Linked DNA regions of Homo sapiens: region 1 is linked to region 2. Evidence: promoter capture Hi-C in human tissues and cell types (Jung and others, 2019). All regions are on one chromosome and are shown on one strand. The core of a region is centred on a gene start or on the middle of the fragment in contact, and the rest is flanking DNA. Distances in the headings are between cores, read along the strand shown. Region 1 has its middle 46 kb from the start of IDH2. Region 2 holds the start of ANPEP (alanyl aminopeptidase, membrane).

The links. Contacts are between HindIII fragments. The study calls those that stand out against the background at their distance.
Region 1: a contact is called between a fragment that was not itself captured here and the fragment with the promoter of ANPEP in region 2, in 1 of the 25 tissues and cell types used here (IMR-90 fibroblasts).

Annotation. Positions count from the first base shown.
Region 1 is chr15:90,144,922-90,151,868 of GRCh38, forward strand. No RefSeq gene overlaps it. Among named protein-coding and RNA genes, the nearest start is that of IDH2, 46 kb to the left of the region's middle. RefSeq lists an enhancer at 4,268-4,477. The HindIII fragment of the contact is 6,132 bases long and covers 832-6,947 here.
Region 2 is chr15:89,809,219-89,816,533 of GRCh38, forward strand. It overlaps ANPEP (alanyl aminopeptidase, membrane), which reads right to left and starts at 5,634. Exons shown (of 21, transcript NM_001150.3): 1 at 5,554-5,634. RefSeq lists enhancers at 105-249, 5,203-5,702, cis regulatory regions at 5,673-5,678, 5,930-6,058, 5,966-5,969, 5,968-5,997, 6,015-6,017 and 1 more and promoters at 5,570-6,724, 5,570-6,058. The HindIII fragment of the contact is 19,993 bases long and covers 1-7,315 here.

The DNA of each region.
Region 1 (6,947 bases), core at 2,648-5,147, 330 kb after region 2:
CAGAGGCGGAGGTTGCAGTGAGCTGAGATCACGCCATTGCACTCCAGCCTGGGCAACAAGAGTCTCAAAAAAAAAAAAAAAGCCCTTTGGTCTCCCCGCCACTGTGAAATTCTCAGTGGACACATACCTCCCAGGCTCTGCCCTTGCCATTTTGTTTTCTCCCTCCCTCCTCCCTCCTTCACCCTTCATTTCTATGACCATCTTTCCATTTCTTCTTCTCTTTTGGGGTCCCTCGCCCCCAAGTTCCGGTTAACGTTCTCTGTAAAGCCGTTTGATTCCTCCTGTGTTTAAACATCTTCCTTCAACTATGTCCTTAGCACCTCCCCTTCCTCAACAAAAGTGGCTATCAAGATATTTTCCTAAACAAAAACCGGTCTCACCCTGCTAAATGCATTGGAAACTTACCACCTGGTGTATATATTGGCCTCCTGAGCAATTGATTAGTCTGAGTCCACAGCTGGGACCTGGCTCTCCTCTCCACCAGCTGCCAGGCGGAGGGCAGACCCAGGGCCCCAGGGGTGAATTTGTCAGGGCAAAGGCCTCTGTGGGCAGCCTCTTGGCAGCCTGCCAGTAGCCCCTTCTGGCAGCGTCCCACCTCTCCCGGCATCACAGATCAAGCCTCAGAAGAGCAGGGCCTAAGGAGAAAACCCGAGAGTGACGATGGCAAAGAGTGATCACAACACCCCAGGTGGGTGGACTCCGGGGGAACGCAGAGGTACTCGGGCCCAGAGCTGGTGGGAGAGGGGAGGTGATGGGAAACTGGACACCCAGAAAGTCCCACCAGCATGGAAATCCACTGGGGGGCTCAGCACCCCTGGAGAGGCACTGGGAGTTGGGAGGATCAAAGGAAAGACAGGGCTCTCACTGCCGGTGAATAGGACAAGCTGGGAAGGAAACAGACAATGCTTTCCAGGTTGGATTGCCAAGGCAGAGAGGCAAGAGAGGGGATGGAGAGAAGTCTTCAAAACTGCCATTCAAGGCCAGGCACAGTGGCTCTCCACCTGTAATCCCAACACTTTGGGAAGTTGAGGCAGGAGGATCGCTTGAGCCTAGGAGTTTGCGACCAGCCTGGGCAACATAGCAAGACCCCGTCTCTAAAAAAGTAGAAAACTTAGCAGGACATGGTGGTGTATGCCTATAGTCAGAGCTATTCAGAAGGCTGAGGTGAGAGGACTGTGTGAGCCCAGAACATCTAGGCTGCAGTGAGCTGACATCACACCACTACACTCATTCAGCCTGGACGACAAAGTGAGACCCTGTCACAAAAAAAGAAAAAAAAAAAAAACAGGCCAGGCATGGTTGCTCATGCTCATAATCCTAGCACTTTGGGAGTTTAAGGCAGGCAGATTGCCTGAGTTCAGTAGTTTGAGACCAGCCTGGCCAACATGGTGAAACCCGGTCTCTACTAAAAATACAAAAATTAGCCAGGCATGGTGGGGAGCACCTGTAATCCCAGCTACTCAGGAGGCTGAGGCATGAGAATCACTTGAACCTGGGAGGCGGAGGTTGCAGTGAGCTGAGATCGCACCACCGCACTCCAGCCTGGGTGAAAGAACTAGACTCCATTTCAAAACAAAACAAAAACCAAAAAACTGCTCTTCAATAAGCCCTTACCACGTGTCAGGCACTGAACACTGACAGCAGCTAACAATTACACTGACTTACTCCACACCAGGCTTGTTCTAAGCAGCTGCTGTCCAATAAACACATAATGCAAGCCACATAGGTAGTTTTGTTGTTGTTGTTAATGTTTGTTTTTGGGTTTTTTTTGAGATGGAGTTTCACTCTTGTTGCCCAGGCTGGAGTGCAATAGTGTGATCTTGGCTCACCGCAACCTCCGCCTCCCGGGTTCAAGTGACTCTCCTGCCTCAGCCTCCCGAGTAGCTGGGATTACAGGCATGTGCCACCATGCCCGGCTAATTTTGTATTTTTAGTGGAGATGGGGTTTCTCCATGTTGGTCAGGCTGGTCTCAAACTCCAGACCTCAGGTGATCCGCCCGCCTCGGCCTCCCAAAGTGCTAGGATTACAGGCGTGAGCCACTGCGCCTGGCCTAGTAGTTGTTTTTTAATTTATTAATTTACTTTTCACCATGGCAGAAAAGAGCGTAGTTTTAAAAACTCTAGTAGCTGCATTTTTAAAAGTAAAAACAAAAAACCCACTGGTGAAATTAATTGTAATAATATATTCTATTTAGACTGAGTGTGGTGGCTCACTCCTGTCCTCCCAGCAGTTTGGGAGGCTGAGGCAGGCAGATCACTTGAGGTCAGAAGTTCAAGACCAGCCTGGCCAATATGGGGAAAGCCCGTCTCTACCAAAAATACAAAAATTAGCCAGGCGTGATGGCATACGCCTGTAATCCCAGCTACTCAGGAGGCTGAGGCAGAAGAACCGGTTGAAGCCTGGAGGTGGAGGTTGCAGTGAGCCGAGATGGTGCCACTACACTCCAGCCTGGAGGTGGAGGTTGCAGTGAGCCGAGATGGTGCCACTACACTCCAGCCTGGGCAACAGAGTGAGACTCCATCTCAAAAACAAACAAACAAATAATATATTCTATGTATTACAATATATTCTATGTAACCCAATATAATCAATAATTAGGGAGTTATTTTACTTTTTTTTGAGACAGGGTCTCACTCTGTTGCCTAGACTGGAGTGTGGCACGATCACAACTCACTACATCCTTGACCTCCCCTAGGCTCAGGTGATCCTTCCACCTCAGCCTCCCGAGTAGTTGGGACTATAGGCGCGTACCACCAGGCCCTGATAATGTTTTGTATTTTTTGTAAAGATGGGGTTTCACGATGTTGCCCAGGCTGGTCTCAAACTCCTGGACTCAAACAATCCACCCACCTCAGCCTCCCAAAGTGCTGGGATTACAGGTATGAGCTATTGCACCTGGCCTTTTTTGTATGAAGTCTTCAAAATCCGATGTGAATTTATGCATACATCACATTTCAGGGTTTTTTTGTTTGTTTTGTTTTTTTGAGACAGGGTCTCACTCTGTCACCCTGGCTGGAGTGCAGTGGCACAATCATGGCTCACTGCAGCTTTGACCTTCTAAACTCAAGCAGTCCTCCTTCCTCAGCCTCCCGAGTAGCTGAGACTACAGGCACATGCCACCACACCAGGCTAATTTTTAAATTTTTTTTTTTTTTTTTGTAGAGACAGGGTCTCACCATGTTGTCCAGGCTGGTCACAAACTCCTGGGCTCAAGCGATCCTCCCGCCTCAGCTTCTCAAACTGTTGGGATTACAGGTGTGAGCCACTGTGCCTGGCCTCCCGACTCAGCCTCCCAAAGTGTTGGGATTACAGGCGCGAGCACCACGCAGGGTACATCTCAGTTTAGACAAACCACGTTTTCTTTTTGTTTTACTTTTTCTTTTTTTTTTTTGAGATGGAGTCTCGCATTGTTACGATCTCAGCTCACTGCAACCTCCGCCTCCCAGGTTCAAGCAATTCTCCTTGCCTCAGCCTCCCAAGTAGCTGGGATAGACAAGCCACATTTCAAGTGCTCAGTAGGTACTGTGGCTGATGGCTACACTATTAGATGCAGCTGTCTAAGTGCTTTAGCTGTGTTAGTCCTCACAACTGTGCTTTTGTTATCCTCATTTTACAGATGAGAAAATTTACACAGAAAGTGCTTCAGCACTTTGCCCATTGCTACCCAGAAAGAAAAGGGCTGAGCTGGAATCTGAGCCACCAAGGTCAGCCAACTGAGGGTCCACAGTCTGGTGTCCTAACAACTGTGCTATGCTGTCAGCTTCACAAATCTCATCTCCCATAGGAGGTCATCAAAAAGCTGCTTGCAGCTGGGTGCAGTGGCTCACACCTGTAATCCCGGCACTTTGGGAGGCCGAGGCAGGCAGACCACTTGAGGTCAGGAGTTCAAGACCAGCCTGGCCAACATGGTGAAACCCCATCTCTACTAAAAATACAAAAATTAGCCAGGTGTGGTGGTGCGTGCCTGTAGTCTCAGCTACTTGGGAGGCTGAAGCAGGAGAATCTGCTTGAACCCTGGAGGCGGAGGTTGCAGCAAGCCAAGATTGCGCCACTGCACTCCAGCCTGGGTGACAGAGCAAGACTCTATCTCAAAAAGAAAGAAAGAAAGAAAGAGAGAGAGAGGAAGGAAGGAAGGAAGGAGGGAAGAAAGAAAGAAAGAAAACAATAATCCAATATATAGGCAAGAGCCCTTACTTCTCTACTACTTACAGTCTAGTGTTCAGAGAATGTAGGAGTGAGCCCAGAGAGCTTCCCAAGCCTACCATGTCGTCACTGCCTACAAGAGTCCCTGAAGATGGCCACACAAAACCCTGGGGCTTACTCATACATGTTCACAGTTTCATTTTCTTATCATATTGGTCAGTTTCATCTACACTGGAACGTGGTTCCACCTATCTTTCTGTTCTCTGATAAGCTTCAGCTCAAGGGGAAACATTTCTGGGGCCACAGGTTCTGTTGCCTGCCTCTGCAAAGAGCACATTACGCAAAGCAGATGTTCTGTGCCCAATTCAGTCTCTGCTATCAGAAAAGCTGTGTTCAGAGCCACATGGAGCCTGCAGCCTCCTGCTTTGCGGGAATGTTTGTGTAAAGGTTCCTGGCTTTCTCTTTGTTTACATCTGACTGTTTACCTTTCAGTCCCATCTCGTCTTCTGCTCAGTGAACAGTTTTTGCACTGGCAGGAGCCAGGTCGAACAGTTCCATAAACTGCTTTTTTATGGTTCTCAGTAGAGCAGAGGTTTGAAATTAGAGAACCTGAATGTTGGCTCAAGGAGGACACAAACTCCCTGAATTAGTGTCCAAATCTATGTGTGTGTGTGTGTGTGTGTGTGTGTGTTTGTGTCTTTCTAGGGGGTGGTTCCTTATTCTCATTGGATTTCCAAAGGGGTCTGGAACCCACAACAGGGTCAGAACACCTGGGTATATGGTGGGCCCCAAGGGGCCACCAAATGGAACGTTCTGCCGTCTGCTCTTTGGAATATTCTTCTGGCCAAGAGCCACCACTTCCCTGACTCCGGCCTTTCTCTTCCCCACTGTCACCAACAGGGGATATAGGCTTTCTATTGGGCACCACTCCTCACTGAGAACTGCTCTCAGGGCTTTCTGAGCCTGTTGGTGTGACTGCGGTGGTGGCAGCTTGCAGGAGAGACACCTCACTCTTTGCTTTGTGGGATCCTCTGCTTGGTCCCTGACTCACAGACTGAAGCTCAAATTCTAGCCACGCACCAAAAAGTGACCGACAGCCGGGCGCGGTGGCTCGTGCCTATAATCCCAGCACTTTGGGAGGCCGAGGCGGGCGTTTCACCATGTTGGCCAGGCTGGTCCCAAACTCCTGACCATTGCATTTGTTTGCAATGTAATTTGCAAACAAATTTGGTAGGCTGCCATAACAAAAGTTCCACAGACTGGGTGGCTTAAACCGTAGACATTTAGCTTCTTACAATTCTAGAGTCCAGAAGTTCACAATCAAGGTGTCTGCAGAGCTGATTTATTCTGAGGTGTCTCTCTTTGGCTTGCAGATGGCCATTTTCTCCTTGTGTCCTCACATTTTTCCCTCTTGCATGTCTGTGTCCTAATCTTCTCTTCCCTTTTATTTTTTTGAGGCAGAGTTTTGCTCTTGTTGCCCAGGCTGGAGTGTAATGGCGTGATCTCGGCGCACTGCAACCTCTGCCTCCCGGGTTCAAGCGATTCTCCTCCCTTAGTCTCCCAAGTAGCTGGGATTACAGGCATGCACCACTACACCCGGCTAATTTTGAATTTTTAATAGAGACGGGGTTTCACCAGGTGGTCAGTCTGGTCTCAACTCCTGATCTCAAGTGATCCGCCCGCCTCAGCCTCCCAAAGTCCTGGGATTACAGGCATGAGCCACCGTGCCTGGCCCTGCCTAATCTTCTCTTCTTATAAGGACAGCCATCCTACTGGATTAGGGCCCACCCTAAGGACCTCATTTTAACTTAATTACCTCTTTAAAGACTTTACCTACAAATACATATGAAGCTAGAACTTCTTGGTGAACATAATTCAGTCCATACCACTATCTTACACTTCTGTGATTACAAAAGCAACATATGCTCCCTGTAGAAAATATGGGAACATCAGAAATGGAAAAACTAAGACAAGAATCTCTGCAAAAATCTTGTTTTTTTGTTTTTATTTATATTTATTTATTTTGATTATTTTTGTTTTGAGACAAGACCTACTCTGCCACCCAGACTGGAGTGCAGTGGCACAGTCACAGCTCATGGAAGCCTTAAGCTCCTGGGCTCAGACAATTCTTTGGCCTCAGCCTCCAAGTACCTGGACTACAGGTGTGCACCACCATGCACCATGCCTAGCTAATTTTTAAAATTTTTTTGTAGAGACAGAGTCTCACTATGTTTCCCAGGCTGGTCTTGAGCTCCTGAGCTCAAGCAAGCCTCACACCTCGGCCTCCCAATGTGCTGGGATTACAAGCATGAGCCACCGCACCTGGCCCTGTTTTTTTTTTTTTTTTTAAGTGTATAAAGTAAAAGTGAAAATATACCCTTCATTCCTCATTTCTACCTTCTTCCCCAAAGAACACTGCTGTGATAGTGAGGGACCTTTTTTGGGTTTGTCCAAACTGCTTCCAGTAACATCCTTGCCCTCCAGCTACACCTGTTCCTGCTGGTGCTCTGGAGAACAGGCCCCTTGTGCCGGGGTTGCTGGTGGATCAAATCTTTGGGCACAGTCACAGGGATTCTGCAGAAGTGGAATTGTTTTGTCAAAGGGTATACAAAATGTTCATAATTAGAGCTCAGATTTAAAAGAATTTTTTTTTTTTTTTTTTTGAGACAGAGTCTCACCGCGCCCGGCCTAAAAGGAAATTTTAAAAGAAGGCATGTAAAGATACAGGAGACCTGGCCAGGCACGGTGGCTCATGTCTGTAATCCCAGCACTTTGGGAGGCTGAGGGGGGTGGATCACAAGGT
Region 2 (7,315 bases), core at 4,384-6,883:
CAGGCTGGCACTGGGGCACCATGCCTGCCCCTGAAAAGCCTTTTGATATGTCCCTGACGGAGCCTGCAGCCCCCTCCCACCTTTGCAGCAGAAAGACCCACAAGTCGGCCTGGACTAATCCCTTTTCTAAACAAAGAAAGAGGCCCTGCCTGGCCCACCATACTCTCTTCCTGTTTGCTTTGGATTCAGACCATAGGCCCAGCTGGCTGGAATCTTTACTCTTCTGGACAAGGCCTCTGGTCTTCCAAGTTGGTGCAGCAGGTAGCCCAAAGTTGGCTCTATAATGAGAGGTCCCTGCTCTAGGCACCAGGCCAACCCAGGCTGGGGGCACAGAGACAGCCATGCTCTGCAGCCCCCACCTTCAGGAACACACAAAAGGGCTTCCCTCGTCCAGTCCCCTGCCACAGCCCAGGCCTGGCCACCTCCACACCCCATCGGGCAGTGGCGGCTATGCTACCCTCCCCTGTCACCCAACCCCACCAGCACACGTCAGCAGAGGGCTCTGCCTAAGAGTGTGGGTGGGACTCTCCCATTCAAACCTGGTGCCCAACCTGCAGAGTGAAACCTTAACTCTGGCTTGGGCCTTAATACCTTCTGTGAACTTGACCCTCTGGCCTGTCCTCTTTCTACTGCCCACTGTGGCTCCAGCTGCCAGCGTCTCCCCAGATCATCGGGGCTTTTTCATACCTCTGTGACTTTGCTCATTCTGTTCCCACTGCCAGGAATGCCTTTCCTCTCCCTCTTGTCAAACTCCTACTCATCCTTCAAAACCCAACTCAATGTCACTGCCTTATCATGCACACCAGCCCCCACTCCCCTCTGCGCTTCCCCAGTCTCCAGTTCCCACCTCTATCACAGCACTTAGGAAAATGCCACTGAGGCTGAGCGCGGTGGCTCATGCCTGTAATCCCAGCACTTTAGGAGGCTGAGGTGGGCAGATCACGAGGTCAGGAGTTGGAGACCAGCCTGGCCAACATGGTGAAACCTCGTCTCTAATAAAAATACAAAAAATTAGCTGGGCATGGTAGCAGGTGCCCGTAATCCCAGCTACTCAGGAGGCTGAGGCAGGAGAATCGCTTGAACTCGGGAGGCAGAGGTTGCAGTGAGCCGAGATTGTGCCACTGTACTCCAGCCTGGGGGACGGTGTAAGACTCTGTCTCAAAAAATAAATAAATAAATAAATAAATAAATAAAAATACAAAATTAGCTGGACGTGGTGGCGCACGCCTGTAGTCCCAGCTACTTGGGGGGCTGAGGCGGAAGAATCGCTCGAACCCAAGAGGTGGAGGTTGCAGTGGGCGGAGATCGTGCCACTACACTCCAGTCTGGACGACAACAGAACGAGACTCTGTTTCAAAAAAGAAAAAAAAAAAAGAAAAAGAAAAATGCTACCAGTGTGTTCAAAAGCCTGCTGCTGCACCCAAGCACCTCAAAGGAAGGCCTGGTGGCATCGTATGCCCCTCCATGCCCAGCACAAGGCAGGAGCCCAATACATGTTGGCCAAATGAATGACAACACCCACAGTCCTTGCCGTGACCTACAGGGCCTGTGTGATCCAGCCCCCAGTGATTCTCTGGCCTCATCTCAAACGCTCTCCCCTGTCACTTCTGTGCTCCACCCCAGTGGCCTCTTTCAGTTCAAATCCAACCTGCTTTTCCCCGCTTCATTCTCCCTTCCTCCCTACACACAAGCTGATCCTTGGGCCTGGAAAGCTTCCTGCCTTTGCTTCATCCACTCCCCACTTGCCCTGGAGACACAAGTCAGTGGTGCTGCCCCCAGGCAGCCCTCCAAGTGCCTCCATGAGGGTAGCACCAGGTGTGCCGTATCCTCTACACCTGGCGTGCAGTGGGAGGGCAACACGTGCTTGTGGAATGGGGCATCAGTGCAAGAATGAGAGACAGCAGTTAAGGATGGAACTTCAGAGCCTTGATCCTCGGGACAGGTTCCACCCTCTCTACCCGACATTCCTTCCTGGGCTTCTGGGCTGTGCACAAACCACCTTCGTGATCCACCTTTGTGATTATTTACTTCGTATTTTTCTTTAAATCAATTCACTTTCTTAGCCTCCTTCTGAGCGATAAAATCATGGTTGGATGTGTTAATTTATATTAACAATTCATGACTATTGGTTTAAAAATTGTTCCTGGGCCGGGCGTGTTGGCTCATGCTTGTAATCCCTGCACTTCGGGAGGCTGAGGCGGACGGATCACGAGGTCAGCAGATCGAGACCATCCTGGCTAACACGGTGAAACCTCATCTCTACTAAAAATACAAAAAATTAGCCGGGCGTGGTGGTGGGCGCCTGTAATCCCAACTACTCGGGAGGCTGAGGCAGGAGAATGGCATGAACCCGGGAGGCGGAGGTTGCAGTGGGCCGAAATCGTGCCACTGCACTCCAGCCTGGGCGACAGAGTGAGACTCCATCTCAAGTAAAAAAAAAAAAAAAAAGAAAAAAAGAAAAAATTGTTCCTCTAGGTAGCTCCTAAAAGGATCCTGTCCAGTTGCACCCGCTTTGGGAACTGCTGCTCCACCCTGTATGATGTTGGGGTTGCTGGCCCTGCGGGTTGTCTTTGGTGCAGGCTCTTTCTGCCAGTGAGCAAAATGCATGTGTTCCTTTCGCTGTGAATTTCTTGACGGGGTAGAAGCCGAGCTCTCAACCCACTTCAACTAAAGCAGCCTTTCTATGGGTTTATGTATTTCTTCCCTGCCTATGTTTTAGTCCAGAAAACGTAAGTTCTTCTAAACTAAAACCAAAGCCAAAACCAAAAAACATGAAGGTTGACAACGATCATGCCAGGGCATAACTAAGTCACAGTCACAGTGTGGAAGACACCCACACTTGTGGGTGGGGAGAGGCTCCTTGGTCTCAGATGTGAAGTGCAAGAGGCTTTCTACTCTAATATGAAGACTCCAGGAGCCTGGGAGGGGCTGTGGCCGGGAGAGCTGAGCACCCGTGGCCGGGTGAGCTGCTGTGTTATCCATGCTCCATCCCCGACCACTGGGTCCTTGGGTAGGCCCCACCCACTCCCACTCAGTGTCCCTGACTGTGAACTATGAGACTGGGAGCTCAGGGACAACCTGGGGCTCATTGTCTGCTCTGAGGGAGCAGTGAGCGAGAAGGGTAGGGACGAGGCTGGGCCTGGGCCAGGGCACACTCTGTCCCCGCAGGCCCCTGGCTTTCTCCCAGGCTTCTGAGGCCTCCGCCCATAGCTGCATCACCCCAGGGTGCTTCCTCTGGGAGCCTTGGACATTGCCCCTCCTGCAAGAACCTCAGAAGGCCCCAATGGGAAGTTGCCTCTCATCAGCCTCTTCAGCCCAATGCAGGGCACACAGGAGGAAGGAGCAGAGGCATTTGTGGGTGGGGGAAGTACACATAGGGTTTGTGTGGGGCCACAGATCCTGCCTGGCAACTCCTGTCTGCCAAATGGGGGGTGATTATCCTGGTGAGACACATGGTAGGTGAAACTGAGCACCTACTATGTGCCCTACCAGGATAATCACCCCCATTTGGCAAATGAGGACACTGAGGCACAGAAAGGTTAAGTGATTTGCCCAAGGCCACACAGCTAGTTAGCAGCAGGTTCCACAGCTTAACTACATATGCCTCCTAAAAATGTCCTCCCATACAGCCCCTCACATCTACTGTGGCCGTGCCAAGGGGAGTTGAAGACCACAGGAGAAGACACGCACCCATTTGGCCAGACCAGGGCTGGGAGCTGGGGGTAGTTCTCAGAAGTAGAACTTGTTAGCCAGGGAGTGCTGGGGGCTGCTTCCAGACACAGGCCTGTGGAGGACCCACATCTTGCCTCCAAGGTGTGACTGGGACCACTGTAGGGCCAGGAGTGACAGGCACCCGGGGTGAAGCCCGGGCTAGGGATAGATGGCTGCCAGCCTATGTGAATAAGGACACCCCAGGGCCTCGGTGTGCGGCTGACACACTGTCCATGCCATGCCTCCAGGGCTGTCCAGGAGCCCCAGCATAGGGTTCCAGATCTCCCACCAGAGCCAGCCCAGGAACTGGACCCAGTTCCAACACCTTGGCTCCTTCCGACATGGGGACCCCCATCTATGTCCTCAGAATGCCTAGCATACAATTCTTACAGCGATGGGGCTGGAGGCCTTAGCTTAAAGGCTGTAGGGGTGTAAGGAGCGCCAGCGTGTAACGAAGGTCTCATTCCCCAGAAGGCTCTGGGGGAAGCACAGGGCAGGCGGCTGGGCTGCCTCAAGACACTGGGCCGGTTTCCCCACCTGTGAAGCGGGAGCAGCGCTGTGGGTGGCCTCCTTGCACTCATAGTGTGGCCTTCGAGGCTAGGGCTCCACAGGAAGGTGGCTGAGAGTGGATGAGGGCCTCATGGGCCCAGCACACCCTCCCACAGGGAGAGGGGAGTCCACCCTCTTCCCTGCCCAGCTCCCCCATACCCACTGGGGCTAGCCAGCCTTCCTGTGGGACAGAGGCTGTCCCCACTTCCTCCTGGTCACCCCTACCCCACACGCCCACCTCCCCTCCACAAAACACATACCCTGAGGGGCCCTCTGGTCCAAGCCTCCCCTTTCACAGGTGAATTAACTGAGGCCCAGTAAGGCCAGGGCGTTTAGAGACTCAGGGATGAAGCCACATCAGACCTCAGGTCTGGCTGAGACCAGGGCTCTGACCACCCCCGAACACGGCCTGGTGGGTTGCAGTCCAGGGGCTGAGGTGGGGGAGGAGTGGGGATCCAGTCACAAAACCCCAGGACATAGCCCACCTGGGCCGTCCCTGCCCACCGCACTGCTGGGGGGGGGGGGTGCGTTCTGGAGTCATTTGGGGAAAGGATCCCATTGGCCCTGTTTAGGGGACCTTTTCCCAGACCAAGAGTGGATTGCAATGGGGCCCTGGATCTGTCTCAGTTGCTCACCAGGGAGGGCGTGGAATAGGCTCCACAACCCCCAAACCTCGGTCCCCATCCATGCCCCGGCATCTTGGCCGGGTTGTAGGAGCGAGGGAGAACGCGACTGTAACGCGGGCGTTGAGCACCTAGAGTTCCCCTTCCTCTTCACTGAGAGCTGCGGCGGAGGCTTTAGACCGAGGAGCGAGATCTAAGGTTAAAGAAAGGGCCTCTGAGCCCAGTGTTGGCCAGAGACCCCACAGGCGGGCCGGGTTCGCCCTTTGCCTTCGGCCGCGCCCCACCCACCAGGGACAGAGTGGCCGCGGCCGAGCCGGGTCCACCCGCCGCAGCTTAGCTCCGCTCCGCCGCCCTCCCCGTCCGTCCTCCCCAGGCTCCCGTCGCCCTCGCCCACCCTGGGGCCCCCTCCCCAGATGGGAGCCCCTCCGACCCCTGCGAGGCCCGCTGGGGACCCACTTGACCGCGAGATCGTAGTGGGAGCTCGGCCAAAAGAATTCTTCGCTTTCCCTGGCCCTCAGTTTACCCATCTGGGAAGAGGGGCGTCGCGGCCGCAGAAGTCCAGCTCCGCACGCGCCAAGCGCTGGGTCTGCAGCTCCCTCGGTTCCCGCGCACCCAACTGCCCCACGACCCCTACCCGCGCCCGCAGCCCCCGCCCTCCCGCCCCACTTGCCTGGGCCGCCGGGCGCTGGAACCTGGACCCTGGACCCTGGCGGGTTCCGAGCTGCGCCGCCGCCGTCCCTGCCCCTCCAGCACTGGACTCCTCCTTTCCCGTCTTTTTAAAGGGAAGTAACCGGACCCGACCACTACTCCACCCGATTCACCCCTAGCGGGCCGCCCGCCCGCAGCTCCGCCCGGGCTCCTCCCCCGTCCGCCCGCGGCTTCCCGGGAGCCCCCCAGGGCTCCTCCGCTCCTCCGACGGCCCGGCCTTCCCCCCGGGGCCTGGGATGCACCAGGGCTCCTGCTGCCCCCGACGGGGTCCCTGTCGCCGCAGCCCGCGGGACCCGCCGGCCACATCTGGACGGCATCTGCCGCGGGGGAGGGGCTCAGAGCCTCGCCCTGAGTGTCCCGCAGGGAGCCTTGTGCATCCGGGGCAGGAAGCCAGCGCATCCCGTGCAGACGGGTGGTGCAGATAACGGACCCGCCACAGCACGCAATTCAACTTTCTTGGTACCTGGGACTCGTAGTTCAGAAGGCGCAGTAGCACGACCTTGCGAAAAAGCACCGGAGTCGGGAACACGCGCTTCTCATTTTTTTCTTTTTCCTTTATTTGTTTTTGAGACAGAGTCTCGCTCTGTCGCTCACGCTGGAGTGCAGTGGCACTTTCTCCGCTCACTGCAACTTCCTCCTCCTGGGTTCAAGCGATTCTCCTGCCTCAGCCTCCCGAGTAGCTGGGACTACAGGTGCACGCCACCACGCCTGGTTAATTTTTGGAGTTTTAGTAGAGACAGGGTTTCACCATGTAAGGCTCGTCTCGAACTCCTGACCTCAAGTGATCCGCCCGCCTTGGCCTCCCAAAGTGCTGAGATTACAGGAGTGAGCCACCACACCTGGCCTGCGCCTCTCATCTTGATCCTGCTTGCAGAGGTTGTGCAGCCACCGGAGCCCCGCCAGGGTGGGGCTCCCTGTCTCTGAGCAGCTTTAATGGGCGGTACCAGATAATATTTGTATTGGTTCCCTGTGGCTGCCGTAACACAAACATAAAACAACACTAATTTACTATCTTACAAGTTTTGTAAAATCAGAAGTCCAAAATGGGTCTCGCTGGACTAAAAGCAAGGGGGTTGAGGGATACAGCTTTCTTGAGGCTGGAAGGGAACCTGTTTCTTTGGCTTTTCTGGCTTCTAGAAGCTGCCCACATTCCTTGGCTGGTGGCCCCATCCATCTTCAAAGCCAGCAGTGGCCCACCAGTCTCTCACAATCTGTCACTCTGACACCAACTGTTCTGCCTCTTGCTTCCACTGGTGAGCATCTTTGTGATTACATCGGGCCTACCCAGATAATCCAGGGTAATCTTTCTATTTTAAATCAATGGATTGGCAACTTGAATTCCACCTGCAACTGTAATTTCCCTTCGTGGGGTAGCATAACATATTCACAGATTCTGGGCATTAGAACCAGGGCATCTTTTGAGGAGGAGGATATGATTATGTCTACCACAATATTCAAGCTGACTTCCAGACTTTCAGATTTATAATCAAATTTAAGCTCTTCCTTATCCATGATTGGAATCCTTGGGACAGTTAAAGCCTTGCACTGCATGGTCCAAATTGATGGCTTTGTGACTGGCTGTGTTTTATTATTTTACTTGCACTTGCTCTTCTTTTGGAAACTTCATGGAGGACCAGGGTACCTCTAGGTAGCAGCCTTGCTTCTCCTTCCTAATTTGCTCTGTACTCTTAAAAACCAGGTCACAAACATATCGGAATATAGAA